Linked DNA regions of Homo sapiens: region 1 is linked to region 2. The links are contacts of gene promoters, found by promoter capture Hi-C in blood cells and fetal thymus (Javierre and others, 2016). All regions are on one chromosome and are shown on one strand. The core of a region is centred on a gene start or on the middle of the fragment in contact, and the rest is flanking DNA. Distances in the headings are between cores, read along the strand shown. Region 1 has its middle 91 kb from the start of PARVA. Region 2 holds the start of DKK3 (dickkopf Wnt signaling pathway inhibitor 3).

Region 1 (6,196 bases), core at 869-3,368, 280 kb before region 2:
ATGAACTCCATTAGTTTCCCACCCTCTCACGCACTCAAGCCGCGTCCAGTAAAGACATTGCTGAAGCCCTGGCCCATTCCAGAGGGGGCTGCACACTCTACCCAGCCAGGATTTCTCCAACTCTTGAGCCAAGAGCTCCTCATTGGCCAACTCACATCCCCCTCTGCTGGCCGTTTCCTTGAAACCTTGGTATGGCCCACCGGGGGCTGCCTTGCCTTCTGCAGGGGTCTCAGTCACACGTGCAGCTGGCCCTTAGGGTTGTTTTGTGCGAAGGAGGCTGATGCGCACACCAGCGCCTGAGTTTCAGCATCCAGGCTGCCTCTGGGTCAGGCGCTTGTGCTACCTCCTCTCTGGGCCCTCTGGCAGCAGCAACCTTTCTCGTAGATCCTAGAGGTCATCTGGCAGCATGATCAGCTGGGGAGGGTGCCCAGGGCAGCCACATATCCCCTCCGGCCCTCCCACCTGGGGCTTGGGGCCAGAACCAGCTGTGATGGGGCAGTAATGCCTCTGGACAGGAGGGATGGTACCATGCATTCTGCTCCCAATGGCAATGCCAGCCCTGCTCCCTGAGGTTTTCTTTTGGGCAAAGTAAAGACAATAAAAAAGATGGCTCTCGTGGCTTTCAGCTCTGGGGATTTTCGGGAGACTGGGACTCCATGGTGCAGCTTCCCAGAACTTGGAGGTTTTGCAAGGCTCAAATCCCCCTCAAAGTCTTGGAGCGCCCTCTAGGGGCGGCAGCCTGAGCAGGCCTGAATCCATGTCCTCCCTTTGTACGCAGTCCAGCCAGCTCGCTCCTTGGTTCCTTACTTCATTCATTGATTCAGCAAACAAGGATTGGGTTCCTCCTCCGGGCCAGACCATGCTAGACACTAGGCTGATTGAAATGATCAAAACTCAAGCCCTGCCCTCAAAGCAGCTTTTGTATACTCTCGAGAAACGCTGTGCAATACTCCTTGATAACTAAAGGCTGAGTTTCCCAGGCCCATCCCAGACACCATGGGGCTGCTCAGCAGTCCTCTTGCTCCTGCACCTCCCCCAGCGACCCAGCCCTATTGGGAGGGTCTCCCACCAGCCTCCCTGCTCTCACCCCAGGCTGGGAGCTTCCTGAGGAGGGACTGATCCCCCACACTGGTGGCACACAGTAGAGTGGGCTGGAAGCCTTGGGATGGACCCTACACTCATATAGTCCGGGCCTGGGCAGCAGGCTTCCAGGGACTTGGGGAGGGCCAGAGCAGGGCAGTAAAGGCGATGACCCATGTGTGGCAATGCTAGCTCCTCTGCCCTCTGCTGTCGCCGCTGGGGGCTGTCAGAGGATTCAGGAGTGACTCTAGGCTGTCCTCAGATGAAGTGGCCTGCCCAAGAGTGCAGCCCTGGGTCCTGCTCCCAAGGTGCCCCTGTCCCAGCCTGACCTGGTGTGACGGTGGTGCGTCTGGGGATGGTGGGGGAATGACTCACTGGCTGGGAGCCTTGACTCAGAAGGAAGGAAGACCAGGGCTCAGTTCCAACTGCAACAACGTTTCTTGGTAGAAACCCCTGTCTAAGCCAAGGCCTTTCTGGGTCCTCCTCTCCTAGGGTGAGGCTGGAGAGGGAGTGGGTGTGGGGGGAGGTGGAAGGCAGCGATGAGCCTGGAACTGGATGAAGAGTCTCTGCCCCTCGCTCAGGGCCTGAGGAGGTAACTCTGCTCAGTGAGTGCTGCAGTCCCTGGATCCCCGGCCTGCCTAGATGCTGTGAGACTGTGCGTGTTCACTGCGCCCCCTGGCAGGGCCTGCCGCCTCAGCACCTGCCACAGCCCTGCTCTTCCCCAGGACACTGGGACCAAGGGTGACTCAGAAAAAGGAGCAGGTGTGTATGTGTGTGTATGTGTAGGGGTGTGAGTGTGTGTGCGTGTGCATGTGTGTGTGTGTGGATGTGTGGGTGTCTGTGTGTAGCATCCTGTTTTGTGTGAGGCCGTTAATCTGATGGCCCAGTCTCACTCCAGTGTACAGAATCAAATCATAGAGTTCCTGAACCTCAGTTTACTCATCTGTATTTCAAAAAGCTTAGAGGCAATGATGGCTAAGGCCCTGTCTGGGTGAAACTGTAGAATCCTAAGGCTCCATAATTCCTGAGCCAGGGGTGGGGTGGAGGGGGATGGGAAGATCTTGAGTCCCTTGGAAAAGGCTCCCTCTAGTCAGCAGTGGAAATAAAGTCAAGCTTATATTTTATTTCTTGCCTCTGACAACCAGGAGGCCATGCCAGAGAGATACCATGTAAGGAATGAGAACGGCTGCCCCTGAGAATTAACCAGAGATCTTCTGCCCAGCCCCAGCCTCCCACCCCCAGAGAGCTAGTGACTCACTCCACCAGAATTCTCTCCTCCAGTTCTGGTATTTGCTTGGGGTTGGAGACTGGAAGCTATTGGCCCGTTGCAGAGCTGCTGTGGAAAAAGAAAGGGACAGGGAAGATGGGGTGGGAGGAAGAGTCCATTAAATGTGTAGAGTAAGTAGGAATTTATCTCCTATAGCTCAATTACCACAAGTCAATAGACTAATGATTATAATAGACTGAACTCTCTCCTTCCCTCACACCATACTGCTGTCCCCACAACACACTCTACCAAACTTTTCATTTGTTCACACATCAAATATTTTTGTGTTTTTGTTTGCTTGTCACCAGGCTGGAGTGCAGTGGTGGGGTCATGGCTCACTGCCCCCTCGACCTCTCGGGCTCAAATGATACTCCCACCTCAGGCTCCCGAGTAGCTGGGACTATAGGCATGCACCACGACACGCAGATAATTTTTTAATTTTTATTTTTTATAGAGACAGGGTCCCACTGTGTTGCCCAGGTTGGTCTCAAACTCCTGGGCTCAAGTGATCCTCCCACCTCGGCCTCCCAAAGTGCTGGGGTTACAGGCATGAGCCACCACACCTGGCATCAAATATTTGAGACCCTGCTATGGGACAGGTACCACCCTCAGAGAATGCCTCAAATTATGAACCATCATTACTAAGATCATCAGTGAGCATCTACATGCATCTATGCGTATATGCATATGTGTAGACATATTTATACATGCATGTGTACATACGTACATGCACATATTCATTCATGTCAGAACAGTTATTTAAAGCTAAGGTCATCACGGGCCATCAATGTTCCATATATGTAATACATTAAAAACTGGAGCTGCTCTGATTGAAGCCAGGAAGCTGCAGGAAGTTCTACTCTCTGCCTCCCCTTTCCCCACAGAGCCCCCCAAACCCTTTGGAAACCAGGTTTAATTGAGGCTGTGGACCATCATTGCTGTGGCCCTCCCTTGGCCTGGTTCCAAGGGAAACATATTTGCGGGACACTGTACTTCCTGTGGAAGACCCCTCTGCCAGCTGGGCCTTGAGGATTAGCTGAGCAAAATGAACATCACATGCAGAAGAAAAACAGGTCTTGGTCACTTAGGGTGTGAGAGTGGGCAGTGGGGTCCACGTGTTCCCTGTTCCCAGGCAAGGCCTGCAGATGCATTCCCAGGCTTCAGGCCCCTGCGCCTCCATCACTGCTGGAGAGAAAGGATGGGGACGGTGAACATCTGAATGTGCACACAGGCAGGGCCAGGAAGCATGAACGGAAAGGAAGCCCAAGGGCATGATGTGGGTGTGGGAGATGGACGCAGGGAGGGTCTGAATCCAGGACCCTAAATCCAAGGCCCAGCTAGCCCAGCCCTCTGTCTTTCTTTCTGTCTAGAAACAGTCCTAGATATTCCACTCCCTGCCAGGTCTCACAGTGGAACTCTTTCTTAGCAGCCAGGCTGTGGAGCACAGGTGACAATTACTACCTGGGGGCTTTCCTTCCTCAAGACCAGCTCCTTCAGCTCCTCTCTTTCCCTTACTCCATTTGTGAAAATGCCTTTGCAAAAATTATAACTGAGAAAATTATGACAGTGACAGAGATCTGACTTAACCAATCCCTCTTGCTTCTAACCTCCACCCTGTCTTTGTTCATTCCTGGGCGTAGGCTGAACTAACTTTGGGAGGAACTTAGTTTATAGTTTAGTTTGGAAACAAAGACGATAACAGCCCTTTCCCCAGACAAACCCCCTTCCTGCCTGGGGACAAGACTGCCTTTGCAGGACTAACAAATTAGCCGCAAGATTAGAAATTGTGGTTTAAGAGTCATGCAGCTGGAAGTTGCAAGATTCCGAACCTTCCCAAATTGCATCTTGAGGCTAACATCACTATTGTAAAGCCTAAGATCAGTGCTTGGGATATTTTGCAGACTCTGCGCTCAGAGGTTCAACTGGCACCACCTAGATTGATAAACTGGCTCATCTGGTCTTTTAGCCCCCACTCAGGAACTGACTCAGTGCAAGAGGACAGCTTTGACTCCCTATGAGTTCATCTCTGACCTGACCAATCAGCACTCCCCATTTTCCGAACCCCTTCTCAACAAATTATCTTTAAAAATCCTGATCCCCGAGTTTTCAGGGAGACTGATTTAAGTAATAATAAAATTCTGGTCTCCTGTACAGCCAGCTCTGTGTAAATTAAACTCTTTTTCTATCGCAATTCCCCTGTCTTGAGAAATCAGCTCAGTCTAGGCAGCAGGCAAGGAGAACCCTTCGGGTGGTTACATTTGGAGGCGCTTCATGTCTGCTCTGTCTGGCAGGTTCCCAATCCCACAGGCCTGCTCTCAAAATCAAGCCCATGGGTTTGAGGAGGAGCCTGTATGGATGGGCACACAGTCTTCCCAGCTCCCCATGAGGAGATGAATAGCCCACCCCCCAATTGCTGGCTGCCTGGGCTTTCCAGGCTGGATGTTTTCCATAAGGAGCAAGCAGGTCTTAAGCACAGCTACATCCTGCTGGCCAAAGCTAGCCTCTTAATCACTTAATGAAGACATTTCTAAAAAAAAAAATTGCATAAAGCTCTAATTGCTTCTTCTTAGCTTGTAACTTTGTGGAATGGAACCTATTGGAAATGGCTAAAGTTCAAGAGAGATTTTCCATCACTGGTGTTAATAGAACACACATGCACACATTTTTACCACAACGGGAACAATAGGGTGGGTAGTAATGACTTCATCTAGTAATGCTGAGCAGCATAAAGTGGGCTGATCCCTTCTTTTTAGCTTATATTCTATGTGTGTTTATTTATTTTAAAGGAGCACTTTCAGAGATCTTAGTGCATGACCCACTGTAAAAGGAGTGAGAGGGTATTTTCCCATGTGGTGCTGATGATATCATTTCATTGCTACAAACTGATAAGTGTCCTCCATATTCCATTGGATCAAATTATTGCCAGAAAAAAAGATGGATAAATATCAATTCCTCTAAGCCAGAATAATTCGGGGCAGGTTGTTCTCCTAAATCTAATTAGTTTATAGCTAAGAGTCCAATGCACTAGATCGATTCATTTAGTTGCTTGGGTGTGGATTTCACAATGAATTCATCTAGGAAGGCCTTCCACAAAGCTGCATTTCTGAAACTCCCAAAGTGTAGAACATGGTCCACTGTGTCAAAGCCCCTGGGGATGCTTACACAGAATGCACACACTTGGCACCACTCCAGACCCACTCAATCTGAATTTCTGATGGTGAGAACCTGGGAATCTGCCTTTTAAACAAGATTATCACGAATCCCTGACCCTGATGTTTTAGGGGGCTTTCTGCAGCCTCCATAACATAGGGTGTGAGCTGTATTTCAGGCCATCCTCTTGGGCACGCTCTGTGAACTTTGAGGATGTAATAAGTTTCTTCATGTGCCAAGGTAGTCCCCGAAGTCTTTTTAAAAATTGTGGAAAATAATATACATAATATAAAAATTGTTACTTATACATTTTTAAGTCTAGATTTCAGTGACATTAAGTACACTTACCCTGCTGTGCAGCCATCACCACCTCACCACCACCCATCTCCAGAACTCTGCCCTCATCCCAAACTGATGTATGTCCTTTTATGACTGGCTTATTTCCCTTAGCAGCATGCTTTGCAGGTTCATCTAAGTTGTAGCACATGTCAGAGTCCCTTCTTTTTAAAGTCTGAATAACATTTTGCTGTATGGATATACTGCGTTTTGTTTATCCATTTGTCTGTTGAACATTTGATTTGTTTCCCCCTTTTGGCTAATGTGAATAATGCTTCTATGAGCATGGCTGGACCAACGTAGAGTCTTTTTTTTTTTTTTTTTTTAAACTCCACACTGCAACCAGGAGTCTTTTCAAAGCAA
Region 2 (6,198 bases), core at 1-2,500:
GGAGCAGAGCTGGCTGCAGGTGTCTGGTCCTGACCACTCCTCTATGCCACCCTTGAGGAGCTTGCTGACTTTCTCATGACGTTCTCCCATTCCAGGAGCTGCAAGTGCGTTATCCTGGCTGGAGCACGGTGTCAATCACGGCAGACTAAGGCCAGCGGTGATGGCTTGAATGCCAGGCTGGGGGCTGGGATTTTTCCTGAGGATTTCACAGGACAGAGGTTGGCTTGGAAAGACCAAGGTGGGACTGAGGAACATTCCCCCTACCCCCAACCTCGGTGGGCTGTTGCAAGCCTGGAGGCCAGAGAAGACGGGCCTGGGATGCCGCGGGCGCAGGGGCAGGCAGTGAAGGAGATGGCTGCCTTCGGTAGAGCTGGTCGCTGAGGCAGAAGAGGAGGGCGTGGGGCGTGGGGCGTGAGGTGGCCGGCGCCCCGGCTGGCCAATGGCCGGGCTGCGGCCCCTCCGCGGGGCGGGGTGGGCCTGGTGGGCGGGCGGGGCTCGGGGCGGGGGCGGAGAGGGAGCCTGGTGGGCGGGCGGGGCGCGTCTTGCGGGCTCCCTCGGGTACCGGCGCTGCCGCACCCCGCCGCGCTCCCGCACCCGCGGCCCGCCCACCGCGCCGCTCCCGCATCTGCACCCGCAGCCCGGCGGCCTCCCGGCGGGAGCGAGCAGATCCAGTCCGGCCCGCAGCGCAACTCGGTCCAGTCGGGGTGGGTGAGGGGCGGCGGCGGGGGAGGGGACGACTCTGCTGAGCTCAGCCTCTCTTGGTGGATGTGGGGCGGGGCGCTCGAGTAGGACCCGACGCCAAGGGGAGGGGGCTGACCTGTGCTTGGTCCACCCCAGGTAGGGGCTGAGAGAGGCTTGAGGTGGAAGTGGGGGTCGGGCACTCTGACCTGGTCGAGGAGGGGCTAGGGTTTGAACCGGGGACAGAGTCTAGGTGAGCTGGGGCTTGGGAGCTATTAGCGTAGAGGATCCGGGTTCGGTTGCTCTGGCGAGGGCTCCAGCATCACAGGTGAGGAGCAGAGCTCAGCTTGTGCTCGAGGATGGGGGTGCGGGGTCCTGGGGCGATCGGGGCTCGGGCTGGAGCGGGTGGGGTCGCGTCTTTTCGGGTGTAGGGGAGCTGCGTTTTCAGGGGCCTCGGTTTCCTCCCGTCTCCGGGCGGGTGCGGGAAAGAGGGGCGCCAGGGGCGGGCGGCGGGGCGGAACGGGGCGGGGCGGCGGGCCCAGCGAGGGGGGTGGTCCGCGCGCCTCTGATCGCGTTCCGGGACACACAGGCGGCGGCTGCGGGCGCAGAGCGGAGATGCAGCGGCTTGGGGCCACCCTGCTGTGCCTGCTGCTGGCGGCGGCGGTCCCCACGGCCCCCGCGCCCGCTCCGACGGCGACCTCGGCTCCAGTCAAGCCCGGCCCGGCTCTCAGCTACCCGCAGGAGGAGGCCACCCTCAATGAGATGTTCCGCGAGGTTGAGGAACTGATGGAGGACACGCAGCACAAATTGCGCAGCGCGGTGGAAGAGGTGGGTGCGCCCTGGCGGCGCGGGGCTCTGAGAAGCGCCAGACTGGGGGCAGCGAAGTCTGGGAAGGCATGGAAGAGCGCTGGCCAGGGACCTCGGGTCCCGCGCAGGGCCTGGGAAGGGCCGACAGCAGATGCGGAGTGACCTGGAGGCAGCGCACGGTGATCCCTACTCCCGCCTCGTTTTGCCTCCTTGCCAAAAAGTCTGGATCTGAGCCTGTCCACCGAGAGGCTCTGCACTGGACCCTCCCTAGGTAGCTGGGGCCACCACCTGCCTGCAGTTGGCGTCAGGCATGCCGTTGGCCTTCCCTATTGTCAGCAGAGGTTTGCAGGGCCCCTGGTATTCCAGCACTGTGGTTTCACAGAAACCCGGGACAAGCTCCAGGCATCGCCAAGTTCTAGCTTGTCCGTTATGCTTTGAGCTTGTTAGGATGCCATGCAGGGACAAAGAGGCAAAGAGCCCTGAGCTTTGCTGGCAGTCTGTCTGGGCTGTCTTGCTTCTCACGCAATGTGGGGGCAGAGAGGGAAGATGGAAATCCTAAATCTCAGCACTGTATGAGTGGCGGATGAGGATGTGAGAGGCAATACCCCCTCCACCCAACGGTGCTTCGCAGTTGTCCTGGGCTCAGGTCCTCCTCTGCCACTCAGTAGCAGGGTGACATTGGGCAAATCACTTAATATCCTGCACCTCAGTTTCCTGTGAAAACTAAATGTCATATGTGTGGGCACCTGGCAAATAATAGGTGCGCAGTATTTAGCAACTATTATCAGATACCACGTACCTTAGCAAAGCTTTGCCTAGCTTCTGCCCTCCATCACCTCCAGGTCTAAACACTGTGGGTGGCATCTTGTTCTGTCCTCTGTGATGGTCACCCACGCATGCCCAGGGCTACCTGGGCAGGAGATGTCACTGGCCCAGCCCTCTCTGTCCAGGTGCGGGGAGCTGTCCCTGGTGCCTGGGGTGGGTAGACGAGGGCGCTGTTGGGCCCAATCTGTCTGTAGCCTGTGTCTATAGAGAGGAGCCAGCCGTCCTAGTGAAGGAGGCAGCAGGAAACCAATGTCCAGGCTGGTTGGCCCCTGGTCTGGCTTCACATCCCTGCTGTCTCCAGCTTGGTATCCCCCTTGGGCAAAGCCTTAACTGCTGGCCCTTGTCTCCAGGGGGAAGTTGCTTTCTCCCCGCAGCCCTTTGTAGTTTGGGGCTATTTCCCCTCCCACTCCACAACAGTTAGCCTGTGGAGTTTGCAGTGAAGGGGACACTGGCTTGGGAGGCAGTGAAATGGGCAGCTGTCCTTGAATATCCACTGGACAGGCCCAGATCCCAAGACCCATGATCTTTCTGTTTCCTGTGATTGCAAAACAATCATGACATGGAGCAATTAAAGGGTGAAGGGATTCAGATAGGCCCCAATGTCTCTTAACTCTGAAGCTTCAAATTAAGTGGAGTTTGCGATGCCTCTGGTTCTAGGGCAGGCCATCTGCTTTCCTTATCCAGGTTCTAGGACTTTCCCTCCTGCACACAGATTCCCGGTAAGACTGACTAAGTCACCTCTATGTTTTTGTGCCCACCACTGTTCAGAAAGTCTGCAGCGTGGTCCTCTGACGTTAGCTTCTGCTGAGGGAGGAGAGAGAGCAGCAAGGGCCTCTTCAGTCTCTTCTTGAGCAGAGCAGTGTGGGGCCCTGCAGGACCTAGTGACGGGGTCTTCTCCATGGGCGTTATCCAGACTGGATTTTGCCAAGACCCCAGCTTTCCTCCCTCTAGATGTGGCTCTGTGTAGGTTGGGGGGTTGAAGTTTGCCACCAGAGGAGATGTGGGCTGTCACTTCTACCCCACTCTTTCCCAGAGGTGTCCTCGCTGGCAGTGGGTACAGGATGAGAGAGGTTGAACACCATGGCAGGAGAAGAGGCAGTGGGGACTGATCTTCCCTCATCCAGTCCCTGCTCTGCCACTTACTGGCAGTGGCGTTCCGAGTCTGAAGTGGAGAAATGTCCACCTCTTAGGGTAAGGTGAGAATTAAATGAGATGCTGCAAGTAAAGCAAATCAGTGAGTTGGGCAGCTATCCCTGAATATCCACTGGTCAGGTCAAGAGCCCAAGATCCATGATCTTTGTTTCCTGTGATTGTGAAACTATCATGACATGGAACAATTAAAGGGTGAAGGGAGTCATATAGGCCCCAATGTCTCTTAATTCTGCAGCTTCACATTAAATTGAGCTTGTGATGCCTGTGGTTCTAGGGCAGGCCATCCGCTGACTGCCTAAAATGGGGTTAAGTAAAACACGTGTAATACAGGTAGCTTCATTGTGAGGTGGCTGTAAGGATGACATGATGGTTGGTTGTAAATAAGTAACAGGTATCATTATCATCATATTACTAGTAGCAGTATGAATGATAACAAAACACCACCAGTGTCTGATAGATTCTCAATAGAATCTATCTTTTAAAATATCTTAAACCATTAAAAATTAATCTTAAAATACTAAAAGTATCTTTTAGATATCTTCAAAAATAGAATACAATAGATTGTTTATAGACTGTGGTTATTAGTATTAACTTTTTATGGAGACTGCCAGAATGCCCCTTAAATCTCATAGACACAGGATAATTGGTATTTAGTCATTGTTCAGGGGAAAAATCAAAAAGGACCTGGGCCAGATGCATTATTTGTTTACATAGTTGCATCATGAATCTCCTTTCAAGTAACTTCCTGGCATTTTCAATGTTCCAGCTGAATCAAGCTGTTGAAGTTTCTTAAGGGGAAGGACAAAGCAGCTCTACTTGTACGGTCATTATTGGAAGAAGCATATCTTCAAATGGCTTCAATCTGGGATATTCCTACTTTCCTGTGTTACTATTCTATATGCTACCAATCAATGTATTCTGAAGATATAACCACTCTGTTTCTCTTCCCCTCATGGCCAGCTCTGTAACTCACTCATTTTAGAATGTTCTTACTGCCTCACCTATTTCTAGTATAAGTGCCATTTTTAATAGCATTCACATTCCTCCTCTACGAAACAGCTCCTTTTGCTTCAGACTTAAGTTTCTCTTGCTAGTGGCAATAATAGTTGCGGTTGAAATTTCCATTGTAAACTATACTTTTAGTTCATGGTGCCATTTAAGAACCGTTAGCTCATTCTGTTGAAATAACCAGTGGCTGAGCTGGGGGGAAAAGTTTTATAAAAAGACTATCTGCTCAGCCCAGAGCAAATTCTAGGTTTGGCAACTTGTCAATTATTTGAAAGCCAAACTGATCCCGATGGGAATTTTAAAAACACTAAAACATTCTCTTCTTCTGGGTGGGTCCTCTCCAGCACCTTCAGTCTTCTCTTCCCAGCTGCGTTTTTTTCTATCACTAACCAGAGTGGTAACTGAGGGCAAGGTCTCTTGCTTTTAAGGAAAGTCATTTTCTTGCCCATTCTGTCTTCTATCTCAGCCCCATTTCTTCTCCCCTTTGTTGGCAAGCTCTTCAAACACATGATATCAACGTTTGCTCTTCCTGCTTCTAGCTACCCATTCCCTTCAGAACTCTGGCAAAACAAACTGGCTTCTTTTGAAACTGCCTTCTTAAAGGGCAACGGGATAAAAACAGCTGTGTATTTCATCTTTGCTGTGTGGCAGATAGTGTATTTCATGCCTTAATTCTTATATCTACTGCATGGTCCTTAATTCTTATATCTACTCAACAAAGTAGGACATCCCTATTTTACAAATGAGCAAGCTGAGGTTTAGTGGGATTTGGTATCTTGCCTAAAGTCATACAGCTACTTTGTGGCAGAGCCAGGACTTGAACCCACCTTGTCTGACTCCAGAATCCTGGTACTTTCCACTGTGTTCCTCTCCGAGGATGCTGCAGGCAATGACTTGACTCATCCAGTGGCCATCTCTCAGTGGCTTGATCCTTCTAGACTTACTTAGAGTCTTTCCCACCTAGAAGGTCCCTACCCAGAAGTAGCTCCCATCTCCTAGACCTAATTCTAGCCAGTTTCCTGACTCCCCTCTCTTTCTGATCTACTCTTTATATTATTTCCCGCTAGCCTTCTGGAACTTGCTGTAGTTCCCTATTGCCTGGAACGGAGATTCTTAACTGGGGATCAGAGGGAGGGGAGGGAAATCCTCAGAATAAGCTGAGAAGCTCAGTATTATCAGGGTCTCATCTCTAGAAATCCCAATTCAGCGGGTCCATGAAGGGATCCAGATATTTCAATTTTTTAAACTTTTGGACCTGACTCTATAATCACAGCTTCCCCATAAGGTTGCTGTCAATATTCAAGGCATCTGGTGCAACGATTCAGACATAGTCAATGCCCCAAACGTGGGGGCTATTCTTAGAATTATTATTGTTATGAAGCCAGTGATCAAGTTTCAAACATCTCAGCAGCCATCTCAGAATCCAGCACAGAATCCGGCCACTGACTAAGTCCTTGTTGAGCCTTTCTGCCTACCAGGTTTTATTCACACTTTGAGTTTAGTGTTTTTGTGTTGCATTGAGACATGAGGATTCTTTCCTCTTATCCTCCTCAGCTCAGCAAACCTGGTGGTTAAAGCAGGGGCTCATCTAGTACTTAAGGGGATAGAGGACAGTGATTTTTTTAAATAGGAAAATACTTTTTGAGCATTCTTTTTTTAAAAAAAAAAATAAAAATAGCCCATAGTCAAAAATAGCAGTGTTGGAAAATTGCCAACTATCAGGTAGAA

The links. The method cuts DNA at HindIII sites, captures the fragments that hold promoters and counts their contacts. A CHiCAGO score of 5 or more calls a contact.
Region 1: a fragment that was not itself captured here is called in contact with the fragment with the promoter of DKK3 in region 2 in 1 of 17 cell types (neutrophils); the score reaches 5.2 in neutrophils.

What each region holds. Positions count from the first base shown.
Region 1 is chr11:12,283,307-12,289,502 of GRCh38, reverse strand. It overlaps a transcript of MICAL2 not described here. Among named protein-coding and RNA genes, the nearest start is that of PARVA, 91 kb to the left of the region's middle. The HindIII fragment of the contact is 155 bases long and covers 2,041-2,195 here.
Region 2 is chr11:12,003,678-12,009,875 of GRCh38, reverse strand. It overlaps DKK3 (dickkopf Wnt signaling pathway inhibitor 3), which reads left to right and starts at 1,250. Exons shown (of 7, transcript NM_001018057.2): 1 at 1,250-1,506. The coding sequence starts at 1,294. RefSeq lists an enhancer at 2,063-2,998. The HindIII fragment of the contact is 4,877 bases long and covers 1-2,296 here.